7 separate regions of the Homo sapiens genome follow, and regions 1, 2, 3, 5, 6 and 7 are each linked to region 4. The links are contacts of gene promoters, found by promoter capture Hi-C in blood cells and fetal thymus (Javierre and others, 2016). All regions are on one chromosome and are shown on one strand. Each heading gives the region's core, a stretch centred on a gene start or on the middle of the fragment in contact. The rest is flanking DNA. Distances are from core to core; before and after follow the strand shown. Region 1 overlaps RAD54B (RAD54 homolog B). Region 2 holds the start of TRIQK (triple QxxK/R motif containing). Region 3 holds the start of DPY19L4 (dpy-19 like 4). Region 4 holds the start of RBM12B-AS1 (RBM12B antisense RNA 1). Region 5 overlaps VIRMA (vir like m6A methyltransferase associated). Region 6 overlaps VIRMA (vir like m6A methyltransferase associated). Region 7 holds the start of RAD54B (RAD54 homolog B).

Region 1 (2,932 bases), core at 270-2,769, 720 kb after region 4:
CTTTTTCCTCTCAGCCTACAACATACTACCTTAAAACAAAAACACAACAAAACTCTCTAGCCCCCTACCATTCCTCGAGATACTACTTCCTTCACTACCGAATTTATTTATTTACTTACAAACTTTATTTACATACTTACTCGCATTCACTTCCTCCACTGGCCTATTTCCATTCATCACATATCCATTACAGCATGACTTTTGTTCCAAAACACTTGTGAAATTATTCTCTCAAATATTACCAGAGCCTGCAAACTATAATGTTCCAATAGCCTCTTTGTGGCTACTTGACTTCCCTGAAGCACTCTGAAGCCAAAGACAGCCAAGAGACTCAACTAGAGAAAACTGTAAGTTTCTCAGGATCTCTTTGTTCAGTCACAAAACATTTTTAAATCTATATAGTTTGATTTAAAACCTTAACAAGAGAACATTCCTGCCTTTGCATGTCACAGTTTTGTGAAGGAGATTCAGGTAAACAGATAACAGAAGATGGCATAGTCTCCTCTCACAGTTCTTCAGAATGAGAAAGAATCAGAAAGAATAAAAAAACTTTCTCTTTTTCTAAAGAAACTATATAGCTCTGAATACCCAAGAGATCTGGGGCTTCCTGTATTTATTTCTGAGACTCCTGTAACAAACTGGGTGGCTTTAAACAACAGAATTTATTCTCCCACAGTCTGGAAACCAGAAGTCCAAAATCAAGGTGGCAGCAGGGCTATGCTCTCTCTGAAGGTTCTAAGGGAGAATCTTTCTTTGCTTCTTTCTAGCCCCTGGTGGTTTCCAGCAATCATGGGTGGTTATTCCAATCTCTGCTTCCACCATCACATGGTCTTTTTCCCTCTGTGTTTCTATCTCTTTCTTCATAAGGACACCAGTCATTAAATTTAGGGTCTATCTTAATCCAGTATGACTTTATCTTGATTACATCTGCAAAGACCCTATTTCCAAATAAGTTCACATTCATAGGTACCAAGGCTTAGGACTTTAACATATATCTTTAGGAGACACAATTGAAGCCACTACATTTCCCCTCTCCCAGAATTTGGTTTTTGAAAGCCCAGGGTCAAAAGTACTGAACTGGATTGTTCATGAAAAGAAACACCTGTGGAGCTTGGATCAAAAAAGATAGAAGTGGGTCCTATGGCCATTCTACCACAACCCCCAAAGAAATCACATTCCCTAAGCTTTGGGGGAAGTCATTAGTGGTAGACCTACATCTTCATTCTCACACAAAGGATATTATCTGTAAACACGCAGTGTTATGAAGAGACTCAAAGTGTCCCGTGAATTCAAGAAAGTGAAAATGTACTTATCAGGGCTCTTTCAGTTGAAAGAGAAACCAAACTGAAACTAGCTTAAGCAAAAATGACATTAACAATGAACTAAATATTATGAATTACTATTAATCCTGTTTGGTATAATAACAATGTGTGGTTATGCAGGAGAAAACATTTATTTCAAGAAATACACACTTAAGTGGCTAGAGGTAAAGTGGCATGATATATGCAACTTATTTTCAAAAGGTTGAGGGGAGTGCATCTACATAGAGAAAAAGAGAGAAAGCACACAAATGAGGCAAAATGTTAGTAACTGGTGAGTTTAGGATGTTAATTGCGTCATTCTTTCAACTCGAGAGTTTGTAGGCATATTTCAAAATAAAAAGGTGATGGGGAAAATGACATATGTTATTTAACTGGGACATACAGATTTGTAGTTCATTTCAAGGTGGATTAGATCAAGAATGAAAAAGATGTGAAAGGGTGAGTGGATACTAAACAGGTCTCTCATCTCTATGCTTTTCTATATGCTACATCCCTCTCCAACAATCCACCATAGAGAACAAAACATTTCTCACAAAGCTTTTTTCCCCAATTTAACCTCTTTCTGAACAAGAAACAGGAGGGTATCAGGAGGTTGGCACAGGTTCTCCAGTCCACTGAATGTACTAATCAGAGAAAGGATTACGGGATTAGGAGTTGAGTAAGTTAACTCCCTCTTTATTTTATCTTAACTCTTAACTCCCTTCTCAAATTTAGCAGGGAAGAGAATGAGAAACTATGGTAGAATACAAATAAAGCCCAAGATTAGTAACATAAAAGGTATTATATTCCAGAGTCTAAATGTCATTTTCTGATGAAGAAATTAGAAAAGAACTGGGCATACATGGATCATTTTCTACCTCGGGCTTAAAGTAGAAAAGAAAATCTGGGAAAACAGAATAGTCACCTAACAAGGATGGAAGCAAGGAAGGAGGAAGTGGGGAAAATAGGGAGGAAAGAAGGGAGAGCAAGTCAGTAAGATAGAGCAGAGCTAAACTGCCATGCCCAGAGCTGTTCCTAGGGATCTTCCTATACTGAATCAGCTCAAAAAGTCTTTCTCCACCTTGTTCTGACACCAGTCACAGCTTTTGAAAAGTTATGAGGAGCACATAAATGGCACCAAGATAATGGCCAGTTAGGTAAATACAGAATTCCTTTCTGTCCGGACAAGATACAAACCCATTCACAGGTAAAATTCATTAATCATCAGGAAGTCCAAGAACTTCCTTCAAAATGGTGCTTAGGGCACTTTGTTGATTTGCACTGGTATCATAAGGATGGCAGTTACTATTCTGTAGCCCAACAGATGGGGCCGGCTGGCTGAATCTGTTCATTCAACCAAAACATGAATAAAATGTAATTTGGAAAAATACAGTCTAATGATGGCTTTCACAAGACCAAATAAACATCTATGAACCATCTTAATTATTTTTTTAGTTACCTAACAAATAGTGTTCTCTTACATATACAAAAAGAACCATAATCATTATTTTAACTCAGTTCAACAATAGAGGGATGGAGCATTTGTTAAATGCTTGGTTTTCATGCAAGTATGTATCATAATAATTCAACTCTGATTTGAAGTACTCCAGACTCTAATGAATTAACAAGTA
Region 2 (2,700 bases), core at 153-2,652, 770 kb before region 4:
TTTTTTAGGAAGGAAGGGCATATCCTAGAGTCTCCAATTTACAGATAACGAAACAATTATTGCCCAAGGACAAACATTTCTTAACCATGCCAGTTTCCTGACTTGTAGGCCAATGCTCCTCCCAATGTTAACAAGCAGCACAAGCTTCCTTCCTGGGGGTTTGCACTGTAAACCTGCCAGAGGAAAATAAAAGATTTTTACCTCTTTTGTTTTTTCTCTCTGGAATGTTTGTTGTGCTGAATCATTAGGAGACAGAGTATATGAGCAAACAAAGGCAGATTTAAAATGGTTATCTGAGGTTACCATCTCACACCATACTTGTTGATCATTAAGTATGAGCCGAGTGAAGCAAAAACAGCTCTACAGGTTTAGCACACCTCTCCACAGTAGAGAATGAAAGGGAGATTATACATTGGGGCTCCTCTAGCAATAAATTGCTTCAACTTCTTCAGGAGGCTTATTAAGCTCAAACAAGCAGCAGAGAACTCCAAGTAGAAGAAACCTAATCTCCAATCCCCTTTTCCTAGTCATCCACGCGGACACCAACATCTGATGGATTCAGGAATACACCAAGCTCCAAGAAAAATACCCCCGCCCCACAACCTCACCACCACCGATAAAGCCACCTAATCCTGTCTGAATCTCTTCTCTGCAAATGTTTTGGTATGCAAATACTCGTTCATTAATAAGAGGAAGCAGGAAAAAGAGTGAAGAGGAGTACCATGGGAAAGGGGGCCCCAAAAGGGAACGGCAGAACCCAGAGAGCTGCACTGACAAGTAAGCGACCGCGAGTAATCGGTCAGCACAAAGGAGCCAATCCCGAGCCGCGTGGAAGACCTTGGGAGGTGGGCGGGACTAACGTGTCCAGGGCCCAGCGGCTGGCGCCAGACACGCTGGCAGGGCGGGAACCGCGCGTTCCTTAGCAACCGCAATGGCCACGCCCACCGAACCCAGCACCCTCCATCCCCCATCCCGCAGCCAGCGCCCTACTCAACGGGAACGGGTCCTTCAGTGATCACCGTACCTACTGGGTTTCCCGGACTCCGGGTTTCTCTTGCAGAGCCTCCCTCCGCCCAGCCCCACCAAGTGCCGCTCCCAGGGACGGAACGATCGTCTCCCAAACGCTTTAGGGCTCGCTAAAGAGGTGCGCCCGCTTTCATTCCCGGACCCCGAGCTTCCCGGGCAGGGTCTCCCCAATCCCCTCGCACTCGCCGGACACACACCTCAGCTCTGCCAAGGCAAGGGCCGACAAACTTCGTGTCCTGTGGGAAATGTTGCTGTCCACGGTTCTGTCACTCAGGGGCAGGGGCGGGACAAGCCAGCCGCACACCCCTACTCCCAAAGGGTGAGGCGGAAAAGAGGCGAGGCTCTGCCCCCAGGGGCGGGACCAGGCCTCAGCCTGCTCTCGGATTGGTCGGCCTTTCTCCCGTCTGTACGCCGGTCCAGGACGCAAAGGCGCTGGCCCTGAGGCCTTTCCCTCATTTTGATGCCACTCCGGAGTTCTAATACCTGTCTCACGAGGTGACTGTAGAAATTAAAAATAAAGACTGTGACTTGTTTAGTTAATATAAAACGGAAAAATATGTTATTTTGATTATTGAACCCTCCCATCTCACACACACACACTCCCCAATTCACAGGATCATCCCTAAGGAGCGTCCCTAAGTGGAAGGGCGCACTGTCTGTGTAAACAATCAATTAATTGCCCATTCAAACAGCAAAAAAGAAAAAAAAATCGTTTTATATTAACATTAACCAGAGATTAATAAATTTAGGAAAGATTGCAAAAACGTGACTGACAATTAGGATTTAGGAGCCTATGTTCGGGTACTCAATTTTCACATCTACAAAATGGGAATGAAATATTAAGATGTTACTTATTGGAAAAGTATTCAAATATTAAATGCTTTATAAATTATACTCATGTAATCCTTACAAAACCCACTAAGAGTATTATCCACAGCCTATGGACAATGAAACACAGGCTAGGAAAGGCTAGATTTATTCAACCATTCAACAAATCTAAGTGCCTGCAGCCATCATTTTTTAATATTGTGGTGAACTAAATCTAAAATTCCTTCAAAAAATTATGCAACCTCCAATTTAATTTTTCTCTTGCTCACATAAAAGTCACCTTCCTCTAGGCCAGCCCCATCATATCTTTTTCCAAAAGCCCTTGAGAAAGAAAGTAGCATACAAAAAAAAAAAAAAAAAAAAAACTGAGACAAGTATAAATAGACTAACCAGAAGGCTTTCTGAAATCTCACAGAATATTATGGCCAGGAATTGAATCCAAAATGTAATTTTATTTTCCGTCCTCCTAAATCATTTTCTGGTCTCCAGTTCCTCTCCCAGAAATAAAGGTAGAGTTAAATGAGATTATATTAATACACTTAACCAGATTACTTATGTGTGTGGCTTTAAAATAGTGAAACTCTTTTTCCTTCCATATTAAACCAAAACCCAGAAGGGTTTATCTTGTCTGATAGATACGGTTGTAGTAAGAAAAAAGAAAAAAAAAAAGAGTACCTCTGGACAAGTGCCTTGAGATTCAATTAAAATGTTCATCGTACTGTGATGCAATTGTTGGAATAAAAGAAACCCATTCCAATTACAAATAATTTTACACTCTTGACCTGCTGAATATCCAAATTCTTCTGAAAGCTTGCTAAATGTGAATAACTCTCTATAAAACTTTCT
Region 3 (2,700 bases), core at 27-2,526, 980 kb after region 4:
TCCGGGCGTGGTGGTGGGCACCTGTAAACCCAGCACTTCGGGGGGCCAAGGTGGGCGGATCACTTGAGGCCAGGAGTTGGAGACTAGCCTGGCCAACCAACATGGTGAAATCCCATCTCTACTAAAAATATGAAAATTAAGTGGTGGCTTGCGCCTGTAGTCCCAGCTACTGGGAAGGCCGAGGCACGAAAATCGCTTTAACCTGGGAGGCGGAGGTTGCAGTGAACCTAGATCGAGTCATTGCATTCCAGCCTGGGCGACAGAGCGAGACTCTGTCTCAAAAAAAAAAAAAAAAAGTTCCTGGAACCGTTTCTGCACATCACTGAAAAATGATAGCCTCTCCCCAAATATCCTAACTTAAAGGTGCTATTAGGAGAATCTTGCTGCCTGCTAATAATGGGGTGTCCATAATTACCCCATGACTTCAGTGAATTCTCGTGCCTGTTTCTCCCGATCTAAAATGGGTATATTTCATTTACTAAATTTACTTCTGAGTACTGTTGGGGAAAAGATCCCGGTGTTTGTTGAAGAATGCTAGATATAATGAAAGTTAAACACAGTTTAACAAATTAAAATTATTCCCTATTGCTCTGTAATATCTAATTGCACACTGCTCTACCCCAGACCATTGTATTATCTCCCCGCCCCCCCCCCCAGAATATCATGAAATGCAACATATTTGCTAAACCAGTTTTGGTGATTTAAAACAAGTTCCAAGCACAAGCTTCTTTCTTGTAATGGTCAAGTGGCCTACGAAACCAAAGCGCCAACTGAGAACGTTTTGCTGCTGCACTCTGAAATCCCAGCGAGAACGCAGGCAGCGATGGCAGTTCTGGAGCACCGGGTTCCACTTCTGCCTCTGACCGGCTTTGTGACTTCCACCACATTAGATCTGAGTTTCCTCCATGTAAAATGGGGCGGGAATGGAGGCTGGACCTGGGAGGTGTCGCTGATGATCGTCTCTGACTCGCTAAGTCGCGGAGTCACAAAAGTGGCGGAAAGCATGCCCTCACTTTTTGGGAAGAGTAGGACGAGGGGCGGGGCTGCAGCGAGACCCACCAGTCTCGCTTTCCAGGGCAGGCGGCGGCCAGGAGCTACAGCTGTGGGCTGCACTCCCGGCGTGGAGTCTCCTTCCTGCCCGCGCAGGCCCCGGCGCCCCAGCGAAACGCTCCGGCCGCTCCCCTCTCCCAACACTCTGGTTCCCGGGCCGCCTGCGGGGACGCGGTTGGCGGCGACACCGGAGGGGGGTGGGTCAGGAAGTGGGGGCGCGGCGGCCAGGAGCGGGCCCCCGGAGGCCGAGGGGTTCGGCGACGCGGAGGGAGGGAGAGTCTGGGCCGCGCGGGAGCCGCAGGGCGCCCTAGCCTTCGCAGAAACGATGGCGGAGGAAGAAGGTGATTGCCGCGGGGTCCAGCGCGCCAACGGCTGCCAGTGGTCTCGGGAAGGAGGGGCGGGGGCGCTGGAGGTCTGGGTTGGAGCTGCTGGTGGCCGCGGTCGCGGTGGCGGCCGCGCGGGCAGGGCGGGAAGGAGCGCGGCGCCCAGGAGAGGACTGCGGAGAAATTCAGGAGAGCGGAGCAAATGGCCCGAAGTTTTGTCGGCCGAATTGGGAAGCAAAGGTGGAGCTGAAAGTTGGGAATCCGTAGCAAGAGAGAAAGCTGTGCCGGGAGTGGTTGGGAAAGAGGGAGGGTCCTGATCAGATTCTTGGTGAAGTGGGAGGCGCAGTTTGGTTTCGAAGATCAGGTTTAGGTACTCAGTGCATATTTGGAATGCGATTTTTAAAGGGCTGTGGATATTGACAAACCCAGAGGCACAGGGGGCGAGGGAACATTCACCACGGGGATAAAGAGGCAGGGATTTGGGATAAACGTGGCAAGATTAATTGGGAATGGGCGAACACGCAGAAACTGAAGAAAGCCAAGTTCACTTAGGTTCAGGGGAAAATGGTAAAGAGCAGAGCCATCTAATTATTATAGTTTTGGGAGATGATGAGGCCAGGAGGCCTTTGAGGGTCAAAGTGGGTGAGCTGGAGAAAGGTTTCCATGCCGCCTTCAGGATCAATGCTAAGATAAGTAATTCATTCAGCAGTATTTTATTTATAGAAAATGATAAGTATGAGACAAAAATGGGAAGTTAGATGAAACTTATCGGTTAGTGATAAACAATACAAGGAATACTCATGGCATAGTAACTTCATGATAACCCCTACTAGTTTCAGGAAGTGAGAAGCAATTAGATTTTTGCATTCTGGTGGAAAACACAACTTTTTACCTTATGAGTGGAGCTGTGGATGTGATAGTAAATCGATCTAATTTAGACTCAAGCCCCCCTGCCTTTTTTTTTTTTGAAACGGAGTTTCGTTCTTGTTGCCCAGTCTAGAGTGCAAAGGCGCGATCTCGGTTCACCGCAACCTCCGCTTCCTGGATTCAAGCGATTCTCCTGCCTCAGCCTCCCTAGTAGCTGGGATTACAGGCATGCGCCATCACGCCCGGTTAATGTTATATTTTGAGTAGAGACGGGGTTTCTCCATGTTGGTCAGGCTGGTCTTGAACTTCTGACCTCAGGTGATCCGCCCACCTCGGCCTCCCAGAGTGCTGGGATTACAGGCGTGAGCCACGGGTCCAGCCGACTCAAGCCTTTCTGAATCAAGAGTGCAAGGAAGGAGTTTAAAGGATTCAGCGGAAAGCAATTTTTAAAAATTAAGCA
Region 4 (2,705 bases), core at 188-2,687:
GCTGGTAGGGAACTCATGGGCTCAAGCAATCAGCTCACCTCAGCCTCCCACAGTGCTAGGATTTACAGGTATGAGCCACTGCGCCTGGAGTAATTTACATGTCTTTAATGTACAAATAAATGTTGCGTTAATCCAGAATCCAGTACTTACACTTAAGTACCACTGTTCCCCAAAGTGGGGGTCTGAAGATACATTCACTGAGGTCTGTTTTCCTTTAAAAAAGGGTACGTAGATTAACCAGAAGCTAAACTAGCAAAGACATCAAATTACTTCACACATTCTACATCTGAAAAATATTAATCAGGTTTGCTATTAAAGTATTTGCACAGTAACAAAAAAAGAAAAAAAGCCTATTTTCTTCAACAAACCAATATCCATACTAACACTTCAACAAAAACTACAAATGGCTTCTGGAATACTTACTTTATCCATATTAAAGTCCCAAGACTCCCTCCTATGCAAATTGGCTTAGCTACTCTTTTTAAGATATTTTAGAAAGCACCATAAGCTATACATATTCTTGTCTCTCCTAAGCTTTTAAAAAAATTTTAACGGGATTTACCCTGGGAACATAAATTCATCTACAAGAGAAATTAGAGACGTTTCAAGGAATAATTATATCTCAAATTCAAAAAAACTCTAGTAATTTATCCTACCTCACTTAAAAACTATCTTTTAACCAAGTAGTTTCATGAGCACAAATCTCATGAATTCCAATTCAAGCAGACTATTTAGAAAGTTTATTCTCATTTGCCACAGTTAAACAAAACTAATGCTTAAACTTCTCTACCCTTGAGACAGTAGGGTAATGTACCATTTATGCCTCTACAATAACACACCTTGGAGACCAACTGTAAGAGACCAGCTCTCAAAATGGGCACTTCTGTGGTTCCAACATGCTATATTTCCTTAAGCAAATTCTCCAGAAATTCAACTCTTAACACACTAAATTACACAAAAGCAAAACACGAAAATTACCCTCAAGTAGTCTGCAATTAAAATTTTGCGTTTTTCTAGTTATGAATGCAAAAAGTATTTTTGTGCCTTTGTGTTCATTTGAAGACAATAATCTGTTAAAATTTCTATGAAAAGAAGAGTGGGTCCCTAAAAGATCACTTAAGTCAGTGAAATTTAAAGCGCATTTTAAATAACTGCTATTTTTATCCAACGATTCATCCCACTTAATCACCATTATAACTAAACAATACGTAACGTGCCTCTTCTAATCAAGACTTAAGGGGATACAGAGAGGGAAACGGGAGGGAGACAGAATTTAAATAAGTAATATCTCATCAGATCCATTTGATTTTTAACTAGCGAAGAAAAAGTCATTTTCCAGATATGGTGAGGGAGAGAATTTTTTTTAACTCTGCGACTACTTCGTAAAGCCCAAGGTCATGATGTAGCATATTCACACTCTAAACGTGAGTTTCCCCTGCAGAAAATAATCTACACCAACCCATAATTATTCTTTACGATGATCCACCTTTTATAATGTAGATGTTTAAAATAAAAACCAAAGGAATGACCAATGAGAGCCACAGTCCCTAGGAAGAACTGTAAATGAAGACGAATCCACATGGCACAGGATTTCTCCCAACATCCTCAAACGGGAATCATCCGAAGGCATCGATTCTACAGCCCAAAGCCTTTGTCCACAACTCCCAGGGGTCAGAGCTTCCTTCTTTCGCGCCAGGCCAAAGTTGCTACGTGGGATCCGATGTTGTCGCCAGACTTTCAGCCAAAATCAGCCTTCAAATTAACCTGGACCGCCCAACCTCCGTGCCTTTCCGTTACGCCGTCTCAAGGGCAAACATTCCACCCTAACTCGCCAGAGGGTGAACTGCCCCCAGATCTAACTGAAAACACTTGCCCTTCTCAAGCCTAACGAGCTGGGCCTGCAGCGCTTTTCTGCCACCACTGACTACGATGACATAGCAAAGAAAAAAATATACCTATGAAATCCTTCGAGATCTTCACTCTCAAGATCCCTGGGAAGCGCACATACACCACCACATGGAAGCTGACGGGAAAGGAAGAGTCGGTGTTTTAGCAAGAAAAGAGGGTGCCCTAACGGCAGGAGCTACGCTAGATACTGGCGCGGCCGCCGGTCCCGCCTTTCCCCGTTCTTCCGGCTTGGTCGCCCAGCCCTCCCCACCCCCGGCGCCCCGAGGGGAACTGCTTCGCACTTGGCAATAAACACACACCACTGCTGCCGAGTCGGACACACAAGGCCGGAGGCTGAGGGAACTCTTCGTCGCAGCAGCCTCCCCAAAACAGGTAGACCCTCAGTGAGCCCAGAAGAAGATGGCGCCCACTGCCCCTCCGGTCCGGACAAACGGACGTACGGTTTATCTGCCCATGCGCTCTGCAGGCGCAACCCACCACCAAGCTTGCGCACGCGCGCTGCCGCTCACCCGTTTCCCCTCGCTAGAGGAGGGGAGGCGGAGCCCCGGGGTTGGCTGAGCTTCTGCGCATGCCCAGATTCTGCCCAGCCCAGGGACCTCGACTTTCAACGGGAGAAATTCAGAGACACATTCAGGGCTCAGCCGGTAGATGTGCTGAGAATCTTCGGTAGACAACTGTCGAAGTACGGCGGACAAACTTTAAAGATTTCCAGAAGTTAAGGAAAGAGATGCAAAAGCAGAGAAAAGGCGACTTGTCTTTTCAGTGTTGCATTACTGTGTGGCGTAAAACATCTTCTA
Region 5 (2,985 bases), core at 359-2,858, 760 kb after region 4:
TTAATACTCATCGTCCGTGATGTATGAGCTCCCTCTACTTCCATGAGACCATTATCATCTCCACAGCATCCCTGTAAATGTCACACATAAGTTAAATTTGAGAACAGAGAAATTTACAAAGATGCATCCACACTTATTCATATTATCTAAGCCATATGCTGCAATCTTTCCTTCAATGTTTTCATTTTTACATCAGTACAAATGGCTAGTTTTAAGGATTTAGATGAAAGGTGAAGTATGTTTTCTTTGAGTAAGACTCACAAAATATTTAAATAAGCAAACATATATTTTACTGGCACCAAGACTTTTCAACAAAATACCGAATGGCAAAACACTGGCAGTTGTAGGACGTGACACACTGATTGATGCTCAAGAATTAATAAAATGCTTGCTATAACAAAGAACTGATGAAACCTGAAATTATCTTTCTGAAGATAACACAAACAACTAAAGAAAATAGTAACTATCATATTTAAGACTATATTCTGTCACATAGAAAAGTTAATATTTTCTGCTTTAAAAAGTATGCTACATAATAAAGTGAATTCTGGAGTGATAACATTTCAATACCAGAAAATCCTTCCAGCAAAATAAATCTTGCTTCATGATAAGAAAACCATCCATATTGTCACATACACTTATGGTAGAGGGCCGTATGCCTACCTAAACATTGTATAAAATCTTTAGCCTTGTTTTTTTGTTGCTGTTGAGACAGGGTCTCGCTATGTCACCTAGGCTGCAGTGCAGTGGCACAATCATAGCTCACTGCAGCCTTGACCTCCCCAGGATCAAGTGATCCTTGCATCTCATCCTCCCAAGTACCTGGGACTGACTGCAAGCACGTGCCACCATGCCCAGGTAATTTAAAATTTTTCATATAGATGGGGTCTCACTATGTTACCTAGGCTAATCTCAAATCCTGGGCTCAAGCAATCCTCCCACCTCAACCTCCCAAAATGCTGAGATTACAAGTGTGAGCCACCTTGCCTAACCTGTTTTTCTTTCTTTCTTTCTTTTTCTTTTTTTTTCTTTTTTTTGAGATGGAGTCGCACTTTGTTGCCCAGGCTGGAGTGCAATGGCGCAATCTCAGCTCACTGCAACCTCTGCCTCCGGGGTTCAAGCACTGGGATACAGGCATCCACCACCAAGCCCAGCTAATTTTTTGTATTTTTAGTAGAGACGAGGTTTCACCATGTTGGCCAGGCTGGTTTCGAACTCCTGACCTCGAGTGATCCACCCACCTTGGCCTCCCAAAGTGCTAGGATTACAGGAGTGAGCCACCATGCCCGGCCTATTTTTCTTATTTTAAGAGACGAGTTGGCCAGGCATGGTGGCTCATGCCTCTAATCCCAGCACTTTTGGGGGCTGAGGCAGGTGGATTGCTTGAGCCCAGGAGTTCAAGACCAGCCTGGGCAACATGGCAAAATCCCATCTCTACTAAAAATACAAAAATTAGCCGGGTGTGATGGTGCACATCTATAGTCCCAGCTACTCAGGAGGCTGAGGTGGAAGGATCACCTGAGCCTAAGGAAGTCAAGGCTGCAGTGAGCCATGATCACACCACTGCACTCCAGCCTGGGCACCAGAGTGAGACCTCGTCTCAGGAAAAAAACAGGGAGAGAAAGAGAGTCTCACTCTTTCATCCAAGCTGAAATACACTGGCACGATCATAGCTCACTGCAACCTTGAACTCATAGGTTCAAGTGATTTCCCCAACTCCGCCTCCTGAGCAGCTGGGACTAGAGGCACATGCCACCAAACTAAGTAAGGCAGGCATATTAATGGCTTCTGGAATTGTGCTCATAATATACCATGACTTTGGAAAATACTAATGAGAGAAATCTTAATTAAATTTTAACAATAAGATTTTAGAGTGGGGAAAATAATCTTTAATTCATATTTGTACGATAGACCAAAAATACTAAAGCATAATAAACTTTACAGTTATCCCAAAATCACAACATCCAAAACAATCAGTAAATTAAGTAACAAAAATAAGTAAATAACAAAGAGACTAACAAAACTTCATTATTCTGAGTTGCCCTAGCAAGGTAACTCAATGTCATAAATTTTTTTCTTTTTTGAGACAGCGTCTTGCTCTGTCACCTAGACTAGACTGCAGTGACACAATCATAGCTAAGTTCAGTCTCCAACTCCTGGACTCAAGCTATCCTCCAATCTTAGCCTCTCAAATAGATGGGACTACTGGTGGGCACACCACGTGTGGCTAATTTTTGTTGTTTCTAGAGACAGAGTTTTGCTGTGTTGTACAGGTTGATCTCAAACTCCTGGGCTCAAGCGATCCTACCACAGCCTCCCAAAGTGATGGGATTAGAGGCACGTGCCACCACACTCATCTAAGAATTATTTTAAAATGAAAGCACTTGGCCAGGTGCGGTAGCTCATGCCTGTAATCCCAGCACTTTGGGAGGCCGAGGTGGGCAGATCACCTAAGATCAGGAGTTCAAGACCAGCCTGGCCAACATGGTGAAATCCCATCTCTACTAAAAAGGTACAAAAAATTAGCTGGGCATGGCGGCAGGTGCCTGTAATCCCAGCTACTCAGGAGACTGAGGCAGGAGAATCACTTGAACCCAGTATGTGGAGGTTGCAGTGAGCCGAGATTGTGCTACTGCACTCCAGTCTGGATGACAGAGTGAGACTCTATCTAAAATAAAATAAAATAAAATAAAATGAACTAAAGTGATCTTTTTTATGTTGGATATTTAATATATAAAGTGATTTAACTTACGGCAAAGTATTTCTCTTTTTTTCAAGACAGGGTCTCACTATTTTGCCCAGGCTGGTCTCAAACTCCTGGCCCCAAGAGATCCTCCCACCTCAGCCCACCAGAGTGCTGAGATTACAGATGTGAGCCATCGTACTTGGCCAAAGATTTCAAATTTAAGAAACACCAAATACATACATACATATATACACAAACACAAACACACACATACTTACAATTGTGTCAGAGTTAAGAAT
Region 6 (2,700 bases), core at 7-2,506, 790 kb after region 4:
CCAGTTCTTCGGAGGATCCCCAGTAGGATGAGCCCCAGCTGTCCACAGCAATAAGTATAATAACACTTCCTTTACTGGTTTTTCTCCTTATCTTACTCTCTTCAGGCATTTCTGCTTCCTAGGATAATCTTTCAAAGAACCTGCACCCAAGACTTTGACTCAAGTTATCCTTTTAGGAAACTCAAAACTAAGACAAGGTGTAACAGTTTCAGCTAAAAACAGGAACTTGGATAAGTGGAGGTTTTAGACTGGACACATATCCCATCCCCTGGGAATGCACTATGCTCCATCCAAATCAATGAAAATATTAATCACAAAAATAAGTAATAAAATAATTCAAATGCCATTTTTCCATTTTTATGTTAGGAAATTATTTACAGGCAAATGGTAAGAAAGAAAGTCTCAAAACAAAATAAAAAATCTACTAGGGATGCTGGTCCTAACAATGGCAAAACTGTATCAACAGATGAGAGAGGTAGATGGCAGAAACAAGTAGTAATGGAAACTTAAAGACATCTTTAACCAGCACTGTAAAATTAAGCTAGTAAAATATAATTTTAACTTACAATGTATTAAGAGTAGTAAGTACAGATGGGTTCACACAGAAGAGCTCTCCTTCCTACACCATTCCTTTGTTACCACCTTCCCAGAAGCAAGTCAGCAGTTTCTCATTTATTCTTGCTCATAGACATGCTTATACAAGCATCATTGTTAATTACTAAAATCTTTCACTGAAGTTCCCATTTTTGCTTTAAGAACTAACACAATATAAGCTCACCCACAGTAACATACTTCTCAGTTCCACTACTAAATAACCGTTTTGAAATATCAAGTATCCTTACACATAAATAAGTTACCTACAATCAGATAAAAAGCAAAATCAACCACATAAAATTGTCTCCAATGATTTGTGAAATTTATTTCCCAAAAGGCAAACATGTCTTACCTAAAGAGAACAGGGTATGGATCATCCCTCTCTGGAGGTCCAGTAATTCGTGCCATCGTTGGGAAAGACTTAACAGGTTGTTGGATCATTGTATGAGGGGCAGTTTCCATTAAATGAAAAACTTCTTCTAGGAGGTTAATAAGCCTTTCTATTTCCCCTTCACTTATATTTGAGGATTCCAAAAGATCCATATCCATAGAAGCTTCCACCTCATTTTCATATTCTGGGTTTGTTCTCTCAAGTCCAGCATCTGTGTCGTGATCAGGTTCACTGTGGTTAGGAAGAGATGAAGTCTTCTCTGCTAAATGGTCACCAAGTCTTTTAATCTCTGACAAGACTTCATAGAAATGGCATTTTTGGAGAATAGCTGAACCAGCAGTAACAACCCTCACAGTCTGATCTAAAAGTATGAGTTCCAGAAGCTTTTGATAACCACTTTTTTCATTCTGCCTACCTCTTAAAAAAGCTTCCATTCCTTCTGTCATACTAATGACACTGTCCAAAGCTTTAAAAGCATTTAACTTAAGAGAAGATGATACGTGATCAGCAAACAGAAGTTCAAATAATCCACTGATCACTCCTGCTTGTAGCAGTCCTGTAACTCCTTGAGCCCCACATTCTGCTAGTGAGGACACTAATTTGGTCCCAGCTTTGAGCTGTCGAACATTTAAGGCGATAGGTTGGCGAAGCGCTACTTGTAAATTTAAAGCTTGCATGGTCCAGTCTACCAACTGGCCAAGGGAGTCTTGTTTTGTGTTTTTCAATTGCAAATAGCTTAACCCTTTTATTATTAAACTTGGAATTTCTTCTAAAGCTGTTACCCATTTTGCACCTCTATCTTCTCTATACAAATCTAAGAGTTCTGTTAACTTCACTGAGGCTTCGATTGCCCCTGAATTTTCTTTATCTGGACCTTGATCCTTCATTCTACTGATTTCAATTTCAAAAGTAGTCTTGTATGGACAACTGAAGTATAAGAGTGGTACAAGCTCCCTGTCATATGGATCATATGTCATAGGAGGAACTGAAGCTAAGTCTTCAGCAGTGTATTCAACATCAAAGTTTGGATACTTAAATGTTTCACGTTCCAAGTCAGCAATTCCATCTTCATCACTGGAAATTTGTTCATAACCATCATCCCCTGAAAATTAGTATGAATAATATTTAAGTATTACATCATCTTTGTCTAATACATAAATTCTGATTGAACAAGAAATAGTTTTAATAAAACATTAAAAATGATTTCCTCAACAAAACCAACTTCTGCCCCAACATCTTACCCACAATTTTACAACATTTTATAATTTCTAATAGAATTATGGACAAACTTCTTTTTTTCCTGAAAGGGGTGAGACCTGAAAACTGGACAAACATTTTAAGCAAATTCCTCTGTATCTGTTCAGTTTTACAACTAACTGTAACAGATATCTTTTCCTCACAGAAATATAATTAGAAATGCCTCAAAGTAACAAAAATATCTATCTCAGGAGGAAAGAAATTATGCTTGTCCTCTTGAGAGATTATTTTTAAGACCAAAAAAAACTGGTTGTTTTAAGTTAAGTAAGAACTAATATCATCAGGTTAAACCAAATACTTTCAGCAAAACCATTGTAGATTCGTTTTATAACAATTTCACATTCCAGAATTTTTATTTCTCTGCATTTACCTATCACACAGTTTTGTAGGTCTCCATTATATTTTGATAGAAAATGTGTCCATTTAAAATATGGCTGTGCACAGTGGCTCATGCCTGT
Region 7 (2,700 bases), core at 44-2,543, 740 kb after region 4:
TTCATGCCTTAAATTGCTCCTTTGAGACTCCGGCTATATAGATGGTTCCTAATTTAGGACGGTGTCACTTAGAATTCTTCGACTTTTAAGAAAGCCATGAGCATTCAGTAGAAACTGTACAAGTAACCACACAACCGTCTGTGTTCATGATTTTGCCCAACTGTAGATTAAGGTAAGTGTTCTGAGCATGTTTAAGGTAGGCTAGCGCAGCCATAAAAAGGAATGAAATCATGTCCTTTGCAGCAACATGGGTGCAGCTGGAGGCTATTATCCAAAGCGAATTAAAGCAGAAACAGAAAATCAAATATTGCATGTTCTCACTTATAAATGGGAGCTAAACATTGGGCATTCATGAACATAAAGATGGCAACAATAGACAGTGGAGACAACTAGAAGGGAGAGGAAAGGAGGAGCAAGGGTTCAAAAACTATTGGGTAACATGCTCACTACCTGGGTGACAGGATCAATCGTATCCAAACCTCAGCACCACGTAATATACCGATGCAACAAACCTGCACATGTACCCCCAAATCTAAAATAAACAGCTGAAAATAATTTTTTTGATAACAAAAGTAGGCTAGGCCAAGCTTTAATACTCAGTAGGTTAGCTGTGTTTTAAATCCATTTTCCATTTGGGATATTTTCAACCCCGTAGTAAGTCGAGAAGCATCTGTTCCTACCTAGAAAATCTTCCATAAGGTAATCGATTAAAAGGTTTTAAGGAAATACAAGAAAAACCTGACCAGTGAAGAGGTAAAAGCCCCTAAAGAAGGCGTACCGACACTCTCCAGGACGCTCGCAGAGCCTTCACCCCCTGGCCCTGGGGAAGGAAATTCCCAGTGCAGGAGTGAGGGAGAGACCCAAAAGCCAAGAGGAGCCTGCGCAAAGCGACCGCAGTGGCGGCCCCAGGGGCCACTGCCCAGAACCATCCCTCCCACACAAACGCACAACCCTAAACCCCCACCGCCCGCCCTTCGCTCCAAGGCCCCCGGGGCCAGCAACCAGGGCGTCCCTGGCACTTCAGACCAAAGCTGCAGGCCCGCAGAAGGCCACTTCGGTCGCTCCTGCCGCCTTCCCTCCCTCCTCCCTCGTTGGCCTGCTCCGGCGCCACTCCCTGCTTTGTCCCGCACGAGCCTACAGGCTGTCGCAGCCTCCCGAGCTTCCCCCTGCAGGACGCACCGGCGAAAATCTGACAGAAACCACTGGCCCTGCAAAGAAGTCCTTCTGGTAACCAGCTATCCCCTCGCCGCCGGAGAAGCTCAAGGATCCCGCCTCGGCGAAGCCAATCGCGGACGAGCCCGCCGCGCGTGCGCACTACCTAGCCGCTGCACTGCCCTGTCCTGCCCTACTCTGATTGGACGACCCTACTGCATCACTGCGCATGTATCTTTGCGTTTGGCTTTAAATGCTTCCAAGTTTGATTCAAGTTTACGGTTCAATTAAAAAAATACTGGTTTAGTGCCTACTTTCAGACACAGTGTAGATGCCGAGGCTACAGACCTCACCATCTGCGTGGATAAGTAATAAATACGGTATGATTCGGTGTGTGCGATAATAGAAATGCGTGCATCGCAGAAGTATACGATATCCTATTGGTTATTCATTCATCCGAAAAAACATTGACTTAGCGGTGCCTGCAGGATAATTTTCAAACTCTTTGTTAGGTTCTGGGAATATAGAAACGAATACGTGATTATTAGGCTCTCAGAAAAGGGGAGCCGCCTCCGGACTTGGAAAAGCATTAAAGCATGTTAAGTAGGAAAGTTACATCATTCAATGAGTATTTACTGAGCACCTTCTAAGTGCTAGGCGGTAACACAGTCAACTATCCCTGAAAAATGGTATTAGAAAGGCTAATCTGAAAGGAGAGAGAATGGCTAAAGGTTGTTTATTGAGTTTTATCCAGCAGTTTGACAAAAAGTAAAAGCTAAAAAATATCAAGGGTGAAATGAAGATGTGAAACAATGGGAACTCTTGGGCTGCTGGTAGGAGTGTAAATAGGTACAGCCATTTAAAAGAGTAATTTGAGGCTGAGAGCGGTGGCTTGTGCCTGTAATCCCAGTACTTTGGGAGGCCGAGGCGGGCGGATCACTTGAGGTCAGGAGTTCGAGACCAGCCTGGCCAACATGGTGAAACCCGGTCTGTACTAAAAATACAAAAATTAGCTGGTTTTGGTGGAGCGCGCCTGTAATCCCAGCTACTCAGCAGACTAAGGCGGGAGAATCGCTTGAACCTGGGAGGTGAAGGCTGCAATGAACCGAGATGGTGCCGCAGCACTCCAGCCTGGGCAGCAGAGAGACCCTGTTTCAAAAAAAAAGAGTAATGTGCTTAAGGAGCTTTTATCCTGGGGACTTTTTCCAGTCATAAAGAGCACCTCATAGGTTGAGTTGTGCTTTTGGCAGCTCCTGGAGCCAGCGTTACAAGAATTTGAAATGGGGACCTGCCAAGGTTGGGCACCTTAGTAAACCGCACCCCCCTCTTCTTTGGACTGGGACACATAAAGAGTAAGGGTAACCAGAAAACAAGCTAGCTTCATAGTGTCTGCAGCCTACCTTAATATCATCTGGGGAGTTCAGAAAATCTAAAACAGATTGGCTAAAGGTGACCTGGGACATTCCTCTTGCAGATTTGCATCTGGTTTGATCCTTCACTTCAGATCATTACTCACATATCAACTTGTCAAAGGGCTTTATCTGACAG

Evidence for each region. Contacts are between HindIII fragments. The CHiCAGO score rates a contact against its expected background, and 5 or more counts as called.
Region 1: a contact is called between a fragment that was not itself captured here and the fragment with the promoter of RBM12B-AS1 in region 4, in 1 of 17 cell types (activated CD4 T cells). The highest score is 5.0, in activated CD4 T cells.
Region 2: a contact is called between a fragment that was not itself captured here and the fragment with the promoter of RBM12B-AS1 in region 4, in 5 of 17 cell types (erythroblasts, fetal thymus, naive B cells and 2 more). The highest score is 13.1, in erythroblasts.
Region 3: a contact is called between the fragment with the promoter of DPY19L4 here and the fragment with the promoter of RBM12B-AS1 in region 4, in 4 of 17 cell types (activated CD4 T cells, naive CD4 T cells, non-activated CD4 T cells and 1 more). The highest score is 6.9, in activated CD4 T cells.
Region 5: a contact is called between a fragment that was not itself captured here and the fragment with the promoter of RBM12B-AS1 in region 4, in 2 of 17 cell types (non-activated CD4 T cells and total CD4 T cells). The highest score is 5.3, in non-activated CD4 T cells.
Region 6: a contact is called between a fragment that was not itself captured here and the fragment with the promoter of RBM12B-AS1 in region 4, in 1 of 17 cell types (non-activated CD4 T cells). The highest score is 5.1, in non-activated CD4 T cells.
Region 7: the fragment with the promoter of RAD54B here is called in contact with the fragment with the promoter of RBM12B-AS1 in region 4 in 10 of 17 cell types (total CD8 T cells, naive CD4 T cells, non-activated CD4 T cells and 7 more); the score reaches 13.4 in total CD8 T cells.

The regions. Positions count from the first base shown.
Region 1 is chr8:94,454,982-94,457,913 of GRCh38, forward strand. The region is part of intron 3 of RAD54B (RAD54 homolog B); the gene reads right to left. Among named protein-coding and RNA genes, the nearest start is that of RAD54B, 19 kb to the right of the region's middle. The HindIII fragment of the contact is 675 bases long and covers 1,183-1,857 here.
Region 2 is chr8:92,964,784-92,967,483 of GRCh38, forward strand. It overlaps TRIQK (triple QxxK/R motif containing), which reads right to left and starts at 1,361. Exons shown (of 5, transcript NM_001171797.2): 1 at 1,224-1,361. RefSeq lists an enhancer at 568-677 and a silencer at 1,348-1,457. The HindIII fragment of the contact is 2,520 bases long and covers 143-2,662 here.
Region 3 is chr8:94,718,624-94,721,323 of GRCh38, forward strand. It overlaps DPY19L4 (dpy-19 like 4), which reads left to right and starts at 1,277. Exons shown (of 19, transcript NM_181787.3): 1 at 1,277-1,391. The coding sequence starts at 1,376. RefSeq lists an enhancer at 370-1,324 and a silencer at 1,085-1,404. The HindIII fragment of the contact is 11,065 bases long and covers 723-2,700 here.
Region 4 is chr8:93,738,674-93,741,378 of GRCh38, forward strand. It overlaps RBM12B-AS1 (RBM12B antisense RNA 1), which reads left to right and starts at 1,438. Exons shown (of 1, transcript NR_027259.1): 1 at 1,438-2,146. It overlaps RBM12B (RNA binding motif protein 12B), which reads right to left and starts at 2,336. Exons shown (of 4, transcript NM_001377960.1): 1 at 2,208-2,336; 2 at 1,956-2,023. It overlaps RBM12B-DT (RBM12B divergent transcript), which reads left to right and starts at 2,410. Exons shown (of 2, transcript NR_183450.1): 1 at 2,410-2,705. RefSeq lists an enhancer at 2,243-2,362. The HindIII fragment of the contact is 1,858 bases long and covers 533-2,390 here.
Region 5 is chr8:94,496,410-94,499,394 of GRCh38, forward strand. VIRMA (vir like m6A methyltransferase associated) reads right to left here. Exons shown (of 24, transcript NM_015496.5): 17 at 2,965-2,985; 18 at 1-71. Among named protein-coding and RNA genes, the nearest start is that of RAD54B, 23 kb to the left of the region's middle. The HindIII fragment of the contact is 3,367 bases long and covers 1-2,985 here.
Region 6 is chr8:94,525,277-94,527,976 of GRCh38, forward strand. It overlaps VIRMA (vir like m6A methyltransferase associated), which reads right to left. Exons shown (of 24, transcript NM_015496.5): 8 at 947-2,087. Among named protein-coding and RNA genes, the nearest start is that of VIRMA, 27 kb to the right of the region's middle. The HindIII fragment of the contact is 220 bases long and covers 1,147-1,366 here.
Region 7 is chr8:94,473,822-94,476,521 of GRCh38, forward strand. It overlaps RAD54B (RAD54 homolog B), which reads right to left and starts at 1,294. Exons shown (of 15, transcript NM_012415.3): 1 at 1,180-1,294. RefSeq lists an enhancer at 1,027-1,256. The HindIII fragment of the contact is 4,488 bases long and covers 586-2,700 here.